Regions from separate parts of the Homo sapiens genome. Here region 1 is linked to region 2. The links are contacts of gene promoters, found by promoter capture Hi-C in blood cells and fetal thymus (Javierre and others, 2016). All regions are on one chromosome and are shown on one strand. Each heading gives the region's core, a stretch centred on a gene start or on the middle of the fragment in contact. The rest is flanking DNA. Distances are from core to core; before and after follow the strand shown. Region 1 overlaps TRAPPC11 (trafficking protein particle complex subunit 11). Region 2 holds the start of CDKN2AIP (CDKN2A interacting protein).

Evidence for each region. The method cuts DNA at HindIII sites, captures the fragments that hold promoters and counts their contacts. A CHiCAGO score of 5 or more calls a contact.
Region 1: a fragment that was not itself captured here is called in contact with the fragment with the promoter of CDKN2AIP in region 2 in 4 of 17 cell types (megakaryocytes, naive CD4 T cells, total CD8 T cells and 1 more); the score reaches 5.7 in megakaryocytes.

What each region holds. Positions count from the first base shown.
Region 1 is chr4:183,669,374-183,676,814 of GRCh38, reverse strand. TRAPPC11 (trafficking protein particle complex subunit 11) reads right to left here. Exons shown (of 30, transcript NM_021942.6): 6 at 2,003-2,102; 7 at 1,578-1,651. It also overlaps the pseudogene RNU6-335P. Among named protein-coding and RNA genes, the nearest start is that of TRAPPC11, 14 kb to the right of the region's middle. The HindIII fragment of the contact is 204 bases long and covers 1,366-1,569 here.
Region 2 is chr4:183,443,040-183,450,095 of GRCh38, reverse strand. It overlaps CDKN2AIP (CDKN2A interacting protein), which reads right to left and starts at 5,460. Exons shown (of 3, transcript NM_017632.4): 1 at 5,027-5,460; 2 at 4,431-4,561; 3 at 1,032-4,008. The coding sequence starts at 5,298. The coding sequence ends at 2,669. RefSeq lists an enhancer at 5,006-5,155 and a silencer at 5,436-5,985. The HindIII fragment of the contact is 3,011 bases long and covers 3,726-6,736 here.

The DNA.
Region 1 (7,441 bases), core at 218-2,717, 230 kb before region 2:
CCAGCCCAGGTAACAGAGGGAGATGCCATCTCAAAAAAACAGCAGCACAGGTCAACAGCTTTTTAACCCCAAGTACCTCTACAGGTTAAGTGAATATTACTGGCCTCAGGTAAAGTCTACAGAGCAGGGAAAGATGTCCTTCGGGCAGCTCACGCTGAAGGAGAAGCATGGTGAGAAAGGAGGGCCTGCTGGGAACAGGGCCTACCTTGCACATGGAAGGAAATGAGGAAATCTCAAAACAGGCTTTTCATAGAAAAAGTTTGTTCATAACTTTTCCAGGTAAATGTATTTCTTTCCAGAATTATTTTTGAACAGAACTGAAATTGAAGGATTTAAACTAATACCATCGATAAAAATGAACTACAGGCCAGGCGCAGTGGCTCACACCTGTAATCCCAGCATTTTGGGAGGCCAAGGTGGGTGGATCACCTGAGGTCAGGAGTTCGAGACCAGCATGGCCAACATGGTGAAACCCTGTCTCTACTAAAAATATAAAAATTAGCTGGGCGTGGTGGCAGGCACCTGTAGTCCCAGCTACTCGGGAGGCTGAGACAGGAGAATCACTTGAATCCAGTAGGCAGAGGTTGCAGTGAGCCGAGATCGCGCCACTGCACTCCAGCCTGGGCAACAAGAGCAAAACTCTGTCTCAAAAAAAAAAAATGAACTACATTAAAGCCAGTTATATGAAGTTGTTGAGATTCAGGAAACACAACTTGGTGCTTTGGTACTTAAACATCTCAAAACAACAACAAAAATAAGATGTTTCTGCAATATTCCTGTGAATAATAAAATTATTTTTATTTATTTCTATTTTTCTTTGCCCTCCTCAATTTTGGGATAAATAGCTGTTTTTAATACCTTTGTCTTCAAAAAGTGAGTTAAAGCTACAAAGAGGTCAAGTTTCATTGAATTCTGCTTCGTAAAAGCAAAGGACTAAAATATTTAACCACTGCCAACACATCTGCAACTAATCTTCAAGGCTCTAAGCAGAGACTTCAAATGGAAAATGATGCAACTGACTGATAACATTAAAATTTAATTTAAAAAATTGAATTTAATAAATGTACTAGTGTATAAACCTATAAAAATCAATAGTCTGGTGCTCACTTCAGCAGCATATATGCTAAAATTGGAGCAACACGGAGAAGATTAGCGTGGCTCCTGCGCAAGGATGACATGCAAATTTGTGAAGAGGCACATTTAAAAATTTATTTTGGAAAAACAAAGTCCGATTTAGATAATGTTTAAATCAGCCTCTTACAAGAATTTTACAGAGTATACACAAAATAAAGTCAAGAAGATGGGGAAAATTTTAATATTACATTTCTGTGGCTCATAAAATTTAATTAATCAAACCAGAAAGCTTTATGACACAATGAAATTTACTTCCAATAATAAAATGAAAATTTTTAAAAATCCTAAAATATTATACTCCATTCATCTCTACACTAATTCCTAAATCTAAGCAATATGAACACTTTAAACTTAATTATACTTTGGCTGAGATTCAGAAATTTCCATCACATGTTATTGTTAATATAAAAATAGGAAACATTTAGTTTGAAAGCTTAACTTACTTCAGCGCATTTTGTGTATCTTGTTTCAACTCACTGAAGAAAGCTATTTTGAACTGATGCCTAACAAATAAAAGCTAAAAAGAGACAAAAAAATTACTATTATACATATTCTATTTAAAATGTGAAAATTATAATGTTTATTATGAGGAGACATAAAAGAATGAAGAAAAATATTCAAAACTGAAATACAAGAATTATTCCCACAAATAAAGGCACAATTAAGAAGGCTATAAAAATCTACCTTTAAGAACTTTAAAAGCAAAGAGTTTAATTTAAAAACAAATTAATTTTTAAAAGCATTGAAAAAAACTTTAGAAATGCTGAAACCATTTAAAACATTAAAGTATTAAGAACATGTAATAATCACCTCAAAAATAATAATAATCCGCTCCAGAATGCTTCTATTATTGCAAAAAATCACGCACCTGGTGTGTTGTTTTATTCAAAAATTCTTTATGAGATTTCACTCTTCTGATCTCAGTGTAGTAATAAGTCTGTGCATGTTCATAAAAGGCATTTTCCAATCTGTAAAAAACAAAAACAAACAAGCATTTACATATTGAATTATTTTAAACCAAACTTTTCAAGAATATTTGTGAGACCTGAAAGTAAAATGGTGACAGAAATATCTGTTTTACATTATGAATAAGACAAAGTGAAGCAAAAGATAACCTGAATTTTCAGATCAAAAAGTCTAAAAACAAGACCATCCAAAAGCCATTTAAAATTATTTATAATACAGGATACAACAAATAAAAATACCTTTCTCTGATTCATAAAAACTTGGTAATCTTTTTTTTTTTTTTTTTTTTTTTTTGAGACAGGGTCTGGCTCTGTCACTACCCAGGCTGGAGTGCAGTGACGCAATCTTGGTTCACTGCAACTTCCACTTCCCTGGTTCAAGCGATTCCTGTGTCTCAGCCTATCAGGTAGCTGGGACTATAGGCATGTGCCACCATGCCTAGCTAATTTTTATATTTTTAGTTTAGGTGAGGTTTTACCATGTTGGCCAGCAGGGCTGGTGTTGATCTCCTGACCTCAAGTGATCCGCCCACCTTGGCCTCCCAAAGTGCTGGGATTAGGATCACAGGTGTGAGCCACCGCTCCTGGCCTAAAATTTGATTGGAATCTCTAAAAGCACATTCGCCCCTACTATTTTATATTTTTATAAAAAGTCTGAAAAAAATTATTAATCAATTAGATTTCAGTTTTTTGGTGATTTTAGTATTTAGGATTTAAAAGAATAAGAAAACTAATGGGGAAAGAACCAAAAATGAGAACTGGCAAATAAGGTGAAAACATTTGTGTGATTTAAATCCTCCATCATTCTATAACTTACATAGGAACAAGAAAATCTGACCAGAGATGGATACACAACTCAAGCTTTCTTTGGTGAAAAGAAGTTATCAGGAGTTATCTGCCTAGGGCGTGAAAGAAAGCAGAACTCATAGCCAGATAAAAGACGAACTTAAATATCAGCTATTATATTTTATATTTGATTTTCTAGGTTAAGATATTTCATTTCATTTCATTTCATTATTTCATTTCATTTCATTTCATTTTTGAGACAGGGTCCCGCTCTGTTGCCCAGGCTGGAGTGCAGTGGTGCAATCAAGTCTCACCACAGCCTCAGCCTCCTGGGCTCCAGTGATCTACCCACCTCAGCCTCCAGAGTGGCTGGAACTACATGCATACATGACCACGCCCAGCTAATTTTTATATTTTTTGTAGAGACGGGGTTTCACCATGTTGCCCAGGCTGGTCTCAAATTCCTGGACTTAAACGATCCAAATGCCTCGATCTCCCAAAGTATTGGGATTACAGGCATAAACCCTCATGTCCGGCCTTTTAAGATTTTTCTATTTTCAAAACTGTAGTTTTAAAAATGTTAAAATATGACAAAATTAGAATCTAACCTTGAACCAAATAATGTGTGAAGGAATGTATTAACCTAAGCTATCCTTTAAATTTTGCAAATGGGGGCCGGGCACAGTGCTCACGCTTGTAATCCCAGCACTTTGGGAGGCAGAGGCGGATCACGAGGTCAGGAGATCAAGACCAGCCTGGCTAACACGGTGAAACCCTGTCTCTAATAAAAATACAAAAAATTGGCCAGGTGTGGTGGTGGGCACCTGTAGTCCCAGCTACTCAGGAGGCTGAGGCAGGAGAATGGCATGAACCCAGGAGACGGAGCTTGCAATGAACGGAGATGACGCCACTGTACTCCAGCCTGGGCAACAGAGCGAGACTCCATCTCAAAAAAAAAAAAAAAAAAAATTTGCGAACGGGTAGCAACAAGGCACTGACTAGAATATCTAATGTTATGGTAGCCAGAAATATGTCTACAGACTATTCTGAATGATTCAAAAAACAAAAACAAAAAATCCTTCTCAATAGAGAATCAGTATTATTAATCTAGATTGTCTCAGTAAATATCAAAGATAAGTGTGGTTTTAGTTTTCAAGCTGAATGTGTACTTAGAGATAAAACACCTGTTAAACAGTCAATACAGAAGACTGAGAGTAAGTAGGCTTGGTAAGTGCTATTATTTCCTCTAAACTGAGGGATACAGAGTCAAATCTTTCCCTCGCTTTAACCGTAACAGGCTACAGAGACATCACGGGATAGAGCATAAGTGTTGTAAGGCTTCCACTTTTTAATTCATACACTTCTTTATTATTTGAGGCTTATTTGGAGAAAACCTTATAACCAGTTTCACAAACATAAATAAATAAACGACAAATCTAGTCAAGACATAAGGCTGTTAGTGAAAAGACCAATTCTCTTACCAGATACTCAAACATTACACTTTTAAGGCAACACCAAACATTAAGAATGCTCTTTTAAGGAAAGAGACCTTCAGTTTTTTTTGTTCTACAATAAAAAAAAATCCAACCGATTCAGTCTTCCCATTTAGTGATTTAAACTAGCTGAACTTCAGATGTCCATGCTTTTTTATGACATTCCTCTGTCCAAAATAACCACTACTTCCTCCCACTAATCCACACCTTCAAGCACAGTTGCAGGCCTTCCTCTTCCTTAAACCTTCCCAGGTCACATCTATTTATTTCTTCTCTGAAATCCTGTAAGACTTACAAACTATATTACAGAATTTACACTTGCAGTGCTCTGTGGAATTTAACATGGATGCTTTTGGTCTCCACAGTTAAATCAGCTTCTTTATGAAGGTAGGAACCTGATCAACTTGTTTTGAGCTAGACAAGATGCACACGTACATACACATATACAAATACGCACACAATTATCTGTATTTTATTGTTTGACCTGTCTCGAAATAGAATTTATCCTACCAGATAATTTAGGTTAAACTTTTAATTACGAGCTGCTCCTTATTCTAACTTTTTATTAGAACACATGTATATTTACTCTTAGCAATATTCATATAAAGATCACCTGGAGTCCATTTTCTGCCACCACTGCACTAGCATATCAAGCAAGCACATTTTTCAGAGCATACAAACATATATTTTAGCCACTGCAACTGAACTTTGAAAAACGAGCACCGATTCCAGGAAAGAGAGCTACCGGTTTTCAGGTGAAGGACATTCTAGCTTCTAAGTTATAGATGCAGATTTATGTCTAAAAGGGGTGTTCCCGAATTTTGTAAAGTACCTAAGAGGCAAAAATATTCACACAACTTTGGAGGACAAAAGGAGGACTACTGTATACTTAAAAGGAAGTTATATTGAAGGTAGATCCTGTGCTAAAGGCTGCAAATAAAAGGCACAAGAGCAGAAGCAGGAGCAGCAGTTGGGGCTGCGGGGGATGAGGGGTGGGGTCCTTACATCCTTTCTTCCTTTCTCCTCCAGCCTTTTCAGGAAAAGGGGACAGAAGGGAGAGTGAAACACTGCTTCAATACTGTCCCGCCCAGCCAAATGCTTACAGCAGTTCCAATTTTTAATTTATGGAAAGACGAAGATCAGAGACAAAAATCTAACTGCATGAATCTGTACATCTGCATACATCGTTTTGTATTTTTAACAACGGAGTTCAAGCCCATGGAAATTCTTTGCTTCAAATAATTTTAAACTAATTAGAAAACCGCTTCCAGGGCCGGGAACAGTGGCTCATGAATGTAATCCCAGCACTATGGGAGGCCGAGGTGGGCGGATCACCTAAGGTCAGGAGTTCGAGACCAGCCTGGCCAATGTGGTAAAACCCTGACTCTACTAAAAATACAAATATTAGGCCAGGCATGGTGGCTCACGCCTATAATCCCAGCACTTTGGGAGGCTGAGACGGGTGGATCATGAGGTCAGGAGTTCAAGACCAGCCTGGCCAAGATTGCCTGTAATCTCAGCTACTTGGGAGGCTGAGGCAGAAGAATCACTTGAATCTGGGGGGCAGAGGTTGCAGTGAGCCAAGACCACGCCACTGCACTCCAGCCTGGGCGACAGAGTGAGACTTTGTCTCAAAAAAAAACCAAAAACCAAAAGCAAACAAATTAGCCGGGTGTGGTGGTGCATGCCTGTAGTCCCAGCTATTCAGGAGGGTGAGGGAGGAGAATCGATTGAACTTGGGAGGCAGAGGTTGCAGTGAGCCGAGATTGTGCCACTGCACTCCAGTCTGGGTGACAGAATGAGATTCCATCTTAAAAATGAAAAGAAAAGAAAACTGCTTCCAATATTTTCCAGAGCCATTTTTGGCATATTCTCTCTATAGCACAACTTTCCTTTGAGAAGCATTTGCTTTCTTACTCATTATTAAACTGTCACCTTTGTTTTGAAAGGCAAAGTATGTGCGTGGTTTTTAAACAGCTGCTAGTAAGCATGACACAGACAGCCTATTGTCCTAAGAGGAAAGGTCTGAACGTTGGGAACACTTACTTTTTAATAAAAGAAAAAAGCTTACTCGAATCATTAACTTGGACAACTCCTGTATTTTGCCTTGAAATGATCAGCAAACTTCTCCAATACAAAAGATTTGCACAATCACTCCCAATGCATTACAGAAGTTTTATCAAGATTCTAACATTTTGACACTTAAAAAAACACTAATGAAATCATTGTAGCATGTATAGGTAATACCTCGAAAGGCTCTGAAAGCACAGGAGTAAGTGTGCCATCAGTAGCTCCACTACTTCCCTCCCAGATCAATGAGATGAAGATGTCCTGATATTCAGCTTTACTCTCTCTCTCTCTGAAGATAAAATATAAATCTGAAGAAAGGGTCTATGAGTTTCCTCATCTCCAATGGACTATCTTATGCACTCCCCATCTTGTATCCACATGCTGGAGGCTATGGACCCAGGGCACTTGTTTTTACATCAGTTATTTTGACAATGTACTCCTTATTGAAATGTTTCATCATCCACAACAAAACTACAAGTGGTTAAGGGCAGAGGCCCATCCTCTGTTTCTCTTGAATCCATGACCGCCTAAATTTGAAAGCTGTGGTGGGCAGGATCACTGATGGTTAAGGTAGGGTTCTCAAGCTCAGCACTGCTGACATTTCGGCCAGGTAATTCCTTGTTGTGCAGGGCTGTCCTGTACGCTGTAGAGTGTGTGGCAACATCCCTGGCCTCTACCCACTGGAAGCCAATACAGCAACCCCCTCAGTTATGGCAATCATAAAAGTCTCCAGGCATTGCCAAATAGTCTCTGGAAGGTAATGCTGCTCAGTGAAGAGTCATTACAGCAGGGTATAGCACAGAGGACAACAGCTTTCTAATGAAGGCTTCGTTGAAGCCTTAAATGTTGAGTAAGAGAGAGCCCAGAAAAGGAGAGCTGGCAGGTGGGCATGACTATGAAAGCATCTGACAAGGAACAGCACTGTGAATAGGAAAGCACTGAAGTGCAGAGTCAATGGTGAGCTGTCCAGGCCTGGAGAGCTGAGGCCAGGTG
Region 2 (7,056 bases), core at 4,211-6,710:
TCCTAGCCAATGACAGCAGTGACAGGCTCCAAGAATTTAGGTCAAAAACTCATGACAGTATCATTCTTACAAGTCAACTAATTTTACCATTAAAAAAAAAATCTCATTCTAACATCAAGAAAAATCTTGATGTCTCAGGAAATCGTCTCCCCTCACTCATCTGAAAAAAGCAGTATATCCCATCTTGGTAGCCGACTTTATTCACTCAACTTGATTATACACTATTTTAGGCAGGTGTGTTTGGTTTTTTGGTTTTGGGGGGTTTTTTGTGCAGATTTCTTTTGTGTGTGTATGGTCTTTTTACAAAGTTCAACTGCATCCATATGGGATGATTCACTAGTTGAGGATATTCAAGATATGCAAGTATTAGAAGCATTAATAATAGAAGAGCCTCTGAAGTGACTCATTTCAAGGAGGCTTTAGAAAGATGCGGTCACTTAATCTGGTAAAAAATCACGTTCTGGGAGGGATTTTCAGAAATTTCAGCATATAGAGAAGTGACAAGGATAATAAGCAGTACAACATACTTGAGCTTGGGTTTTGAAATCAGATATGGGCTTGAATTATCTGACCGAATTACTCTGTGTAAGTTTCTCCATCTGAAAAGTAGGCCAAATGAGAAGAGCTCCTTGTAAGAGGAATAAGAATATATAAGTGAACCATGGGATATCTGCACCATGCCGGGCACTTTGAATGTATCATCTCATCTAACTGCCATGCTCTATGAGACAGCTATTAGTCCTATTTCACAGACGAAGTAAGGTTAAAAGGTTAAATTCCCAGAGGTTACATGTCTAGTAAGAGACAGCCAAGATTCACTCTCAATAATAGAATTCTAAAATATGCATTTCTCTTAAACCAGGATTCTTTAAATGTTATTAACCAAGAGCATTTTTCTAGGTTTTTAAATAGGATTATCATAAATGTACACTAAACAACTTCCTCCACATCAAAAGTCACTATAAAACATTCTCAATAACCTTCATAGTAACTTGAAACAAGCCAATTTAGGAAATTACCAAACCACCTAATTGGATATATTATATAAATTTATTTGTTCGTTGTAATTTTTTGCTTTTCTGATAATCATTATCCCACAAAATACACATTCCAAGACTGAGGAAAGTGAGGTAACTAAAAGTGCTTTCACAATACATTCATGTTATTGTGTCCCGCAATCTATAAAGGCAACCCACTTACAGTATATGGATTTTAGCTTTGGTATCCAATTAAATATCCTCAAAAATGAATCATTTTTAAAGGTTATATGGTAAAATTAAAACATCTGATTATGTAATTATGTAATTCTAGCATAAAAAATTAAAGTATCTTTTTATTCCTAGAATACAAAATAGGAATAACTGCTACATACTTAAATTGTGCTTACGTTTGATTTTCCTATTCCAACACAACTGGCCCATGAAAGGTCTTTCTTTTCTCTCTATATTATCACCATTATTGCTCAATGGGCAGTATCTAAAAATAGAATCTAGAAAGCCAGAAACCACAAAAATAACATCTTGGGGCCAGTTTGAAGCAAAGTAAACAGAATATACAATGACAGACAAACAGGCAGAATCACCTAAGACGAAAACAAAATTCCACTTCATTTTAACGAATGTAGTTAAATTGAATAGGCTCATTATCAAGAGCTGAACACGGCTCTCTGTTCTTTCCGGTATTCTAAAAGATGCATAAACACAAAAACCATCCAGTTCTAGATTTGAAAATTGAAGGGAATCGCTTTTAATCTATTCTGGCTCAGGGGATTGCTGTAAAAAAAAAAATTAAATAAAGATGTATATCACACAATTACCTGGTTGTCTAATTTATAATGACAAGTCATGGGAAGCCTATTTGCAGGAATTGGTTCTGACTTGGAGAAAAAAAACACAACTTCTTGAAAAGGTAAAATAGCTTAAAGCATTTAATATCTAAACAAATCAATCTGTTAATAGTAGTCACAAAATATGCTTAATATAGAAACCCACATTCATGTTTTTAAGAAAAAAGTGTAAATTGTATTCCACCTCAAAACATAAATTAACCCGCTTAAAGAATCTTCAGCGGTCAAAGTCATGGTGAATTTTAAACAACTTCAGAGTAAAATAACAAGTACTTTATACTGCTTTATATCTAAAAAATGCTTACAACTTCTCATAAAAATAGTTTGAAGCAACTATTTTTTCTTTTATTTTTTAACAGACACGTTCAACATTACGGGCAACATTTTTAAAACCTTAAGCTTTACAGACTTTCAAACATTCAAATACTGTGGTCCCTTTCCTTTGATGTGGTTTATTCAGCTAGAAAAGAAAACATGGTAGACAACTTAATACATTTTCACCAAATTGAAAGTAGTACAAAAATTTTAGGACTCTACCGAACTACACATCGTACCTAATGTATCATTAAAAATAGAAGACAGTATTTTCTTCAGCAAATAAAACAGCATACTAATATGCTGCTAATGCATACCTTTTAATGTGTACTGTCATTCATAAATTATTTACAACTGCTACTGTGTGAAGAGAACTAGAATGTAAATTTTCTGCAAAACTGGAAAAAAAGCAATACAAAATTTGTGAAAGCCTGTGTTTTATACTATACAAAAGTCAGTTTTTCTCTTCAAATACCAGATATTGTATGCAGTGATATTTTGGACACATTATAGTAATTCTTGAGGATGTTTTAGTGCTGGAGGTAAGTTTACAGGCCTCGATTCTTCATCAAGGAGTACTAGATCTTCTATTTCACTGCCTCTGTATTTCCTTTTACATATTTTTACCACCACCTTTTTCTTGAGAAATAACTTCAATGCTTCTCTTGATGCAACTGCTTTTGCATTTTCTTTGCTTTTTCCACAGCCAGTGCCCAAATACACAGACTTGCACCTCAATTCACAAACAATACTTTCTTGAGAGCTCTTATTTTGAGGCAGATCTGCCAATTCTTTTAGTGGGACAAAAAATACATCCAGTGTTGCTTTCAGAGCCTCAATAGCTGCATTTAGGAGCTCTCCATGATTCACATTGGGACTAAAGCCACCAACAGCTACCAACTTCCATGCCACCGTTTTATATAGTCTATTGAAAAAAGGTTGCTTCTGTTTCACATCTTCATTGGTTAACTTGCAAGAGAATTTGACAGAACTCTCACTTGACTGTGAAGTACTTTTAGAAGGCAACTGTGAGGTGCTAGTCTGAGAACTACTCTTAGAAGCCAACTGGGACACACTTGCTAAGGAAGTGCTTTTGGAAACCAGAGATCCACTGGTCTGGGAGCTGCTCTTGGAAGCTAGTAGTGATGCAGCTACCTGGGAAGTGCTCTTGGAAGTTAGCAGCGATGTATTTGTTGAAGAGCTGCTCTTGGGAGTCAGTAAGGATGTGCCTGATGAGGAACTGTTTTTAGCAACTGATGATGAAACACTTGCCTCTGAACTAGTTTTGGAAGTTAACCCACTTGAAGCTGTCTCTGAACTAGGTTTGGAAGACAATAGTGGCAATTCTACCTCTGAGCTTCCTGAGGAGCCCAACAAGGGCACCTCGATCTCTGAGCTGCTTTGAGAAGCTGAGGCTGAAGAGCCTTCCAAAGCACTCTTTTTAGGTGATCCACTTTGTTGTCTAGAATCAGTGGATTGGGTCATGTGACTATTCACACTGGATTTCAGCAAGGAAACAAATGATGCAGAACCGTGTTTATCTGGAGCTTCTGCTTCAGAAGCTTTCCCAGATCCTGCCGTTGTTACCTGAGAGGAAACGCTGCTGCTGCTTTGGCTGGAAACAGATCGATCTCCATCACTTGTAGAGCTATTCTGACTGGAGATGCCAGAGCTCCGAGCTGAGTTCCCACTCTCTGATTTGATGGCCGACCCTATACACGTTGAACTGTTTTCCTGCTGAGCTGATGCACGTTCTGTCTTGGCAGAGGTTTTTGCGTGATCTTGCTCAACTGCAGAACTGTTTTTTCCTTCTATAACTCGTTTTTTGGATGGCTCTTCTACCCCTTCTAAAAAGAAGAAAAACATAGATATGTGACTAAGAATACCTCGTACAAAACGGGTGATGAGACAAATACACATTAAAATAAAGGCACAAAGTGAAAACATTTCAAGACTAATCGTTTCTTTAAAAAGTGTGGAGTCATTAATTTCTTAAAACAGTGTTGAATAACATCATGAATGTCTAATATTAAAAAAATAACAGCATCAGACAACAGTGGACACTTCAAAATCTAAAGCAGTCAAAGCAAACTATCAAATTCAAAGCCTAAAGACACAGATATATACTTTAGGTTTAACATTCCAACTTTATTACTTATTAATAACATAAAAATTCTGGCTTGTTAAAAAAATTAGTAACAATAATTCCTAATTATATCAAACTTATGCTCTAAACTCCTATGTATGTTCACATCTATGATCTGCTAACCATTGCTACTCGATATCCCTCTTTTCTTCACCTTGGCAACCAGTTCATCTCTTGTTGTATAGGTTGGAGCATCTGTCACTTTGATGCCTTCAGCCATACTAAGTATTTTATCCATAACTTTTTGAGGGTATCTGAAAAAGAAGGAAAAGTCATTTTTAAAAAGTGTTTTTTCTAAGGTCCTACTTGTGCAAAAAACAGGCCACAGGGACTGCATTTCCTGGCTGCAATCAAGAAAGTGAACCAACCGCCAAGAACTGTTTCCTGGAACCCCATAAACAAGTGCCCCAGGGTCTGGGAGGCAGGGCACCTCCTCACTAATCTTAAATCTCGCACCCGTCCCCAAGAGCGTTGTTCCCTAACACAAGCAACCCTACCAGCAGCTGCGCCCACACCACCGGGCACACAGACGTCCGGGAATCATGTCGGCTCCTCGCAGGGACGCCCTTCTCCCCCTTAGAGGGCAGCCGGGCCGGCGGATTCCCGCGCTTCACAACTTCCCCTCCCCGCCGAGGCCGGTCCCGCGGAGGGCGCCGGGCCCCGGTCTGCAGGTGGCACACAAAACGAGGCGTGCTGGTTAGGGACGCTGCCTCACTCACCGGCACCCGAGGAAGACGTGGTTCGCCCAGGCCATGGAAAAGGAGATGAGCTGCTGCAGCTGCCGGTTTCGGGTCCCGCTCTCGGCGTCGGCAGCTTCATCCGTGCTAGCGGAGGCAGCGCCGCCAGCGGGGGCCAGGTCCCCGGCGTTGCGAAGCAAAAAATCCCGGCGGTGGCGCCAGTGTTTGTCAGTCTCGCCGTCGCAGCGCAGCGCCTCCACCCAGGCTGCCACCCGCGGGTTCTGGCTCAGGTACTCCGACACCTCCTGCGCCATGTTGGGCCTGCAGGCCGCGAACACAGCTGCACCGGGAGACAGGCAGGACTAGCGGGGCGAGCGGCCCTGTCACTGCGGCCTGCACCCGCGGCCCTCCAGATAACGCCCCTCCGCAGGCCTAAAGACCAAACAACAGCGCCCAGAGCCGCCGAACCGCCCACTTCCGCCCACCGCCGGCTTCTTCCCTTTTATAACCTCGCCGCCGCCGCGCGCCCTCGCGTTCTTCCGGCGCGAGCCGGCGCTCCCAAGACGCTTTGCGGCGCCGGGGCCGCTGCGACGCTGCGTCCCCGTGAGGCCACGGAGGGCACCCCGGGGGTGAGGTGGGCGGGCGTCGGGCGTCTCCCGCCCCACGAGGGCGGACTGCAAGTCGAGCTGGCCTGGGACGACCGAGTCTCGGCGGAACCCCGGGCGTTCTGTCCTCGCTTTGTGACGCCGCGCGCTCCTGCCGTCCTCCTCCCCCGCCGGGTCAGCTGCGGCGCCGGGAGCAGAGGCGAGAGGGGCAGGGCCCGGGCAAGGGAGGCAGCCGGGCGCGGCGGCCAAAGTCCGCTAGGGGGGCGTCCCGGGGGACCTTGAGCCGCCCGCAGCCGCGGGGCCTGTGGTCTCCGCCCTGAGACGCCTGTGTGTGAGCGGGGCCAAAACAAACAAAAGCCGGCCTCCATGTTAGAGTGTTGGGAGCTGCGTCTCGCGCTGCTTTCAGTGTGCCCGAGCGAAGCGTTCCGAGGCCGTCGGGGTCTCCGCGCCTTCAGGAGGGCGGGAGTGCCAGTCCCCTTACATAGCAGCAGTAGACAGTAAGGTCACACGAGGACCTGGCTCCGTGTTGCCGTGAGGCTTGCAGCCTTCGAAGCTGGCCCTGGCCCCGCAGCGGTAGGGCTTGTTCCCGCAGTTTATTAGGTCTCTAGTTAATCCAGGCATTGCCTTCCTGTTCTGGTCAGTAGGAAAACAACACCCCGACAACGCTCTGTCTCTAGAATTTCCTAAAATCAACAGCTTTACCACCAACCGGCAGATGTCCGGAGGTGGAGTGGAAATGTACCTATTTATCTATAGGGCCCCAAACCTCTCTCCCTGTTAGAGCTGTTTTTTCCTTCTATATATTTTTTTCCACTTTACATTTCCCACAGTTACGTACTCTAACTGCTGGCTGGCTTATTGTTACGTTTCCCATTCCAGGTATACATGCACTGTAAGATAAATACGTTAAATGATATAAATTATGAAATTTTTCTTTCAATAAATGTAGACTTTGATGTAAAAATGCATGAATCAGAATAAGCAAGCAAAAAAAGGTCACTTTAGGTAAGATCAGATAAGGTTAACTGTGTAATTTATGTGCATGCTGGAACAAAATACAGCTATTGTATGAAAACAATATTGCCCATTTTCCTGCCATACCAAAAGAAACTACATAAAAACGGAGGCACAAAGAAATTTTGAAGCTTTGTGATTTTGCTTCTAGTTTGCTGTTCTTTCCTCCTTTTCACAGATAATTGCTGAAAATCTAGAGGGGGTGGACGGATTGCAGAAATCTGGCTATTTAAAAGGTGGAGAAATTACGATTTCTCCTTTCATGAATTCTTTGGCAAGGGGACCATGGCAAGTAAAAGAAGCTATGATCGCATACCTAGATTATATATGTGCATTTTAAATCAAGAATGTTCTCACGGCCAGGTGCAGTGGCTCACGCCTGTAATCCCAGCACCTTGGGAGGCCGAGGCGGACGAATCATGAGGTCAGGAGTTCGAGACCAGCCTGGCCAAT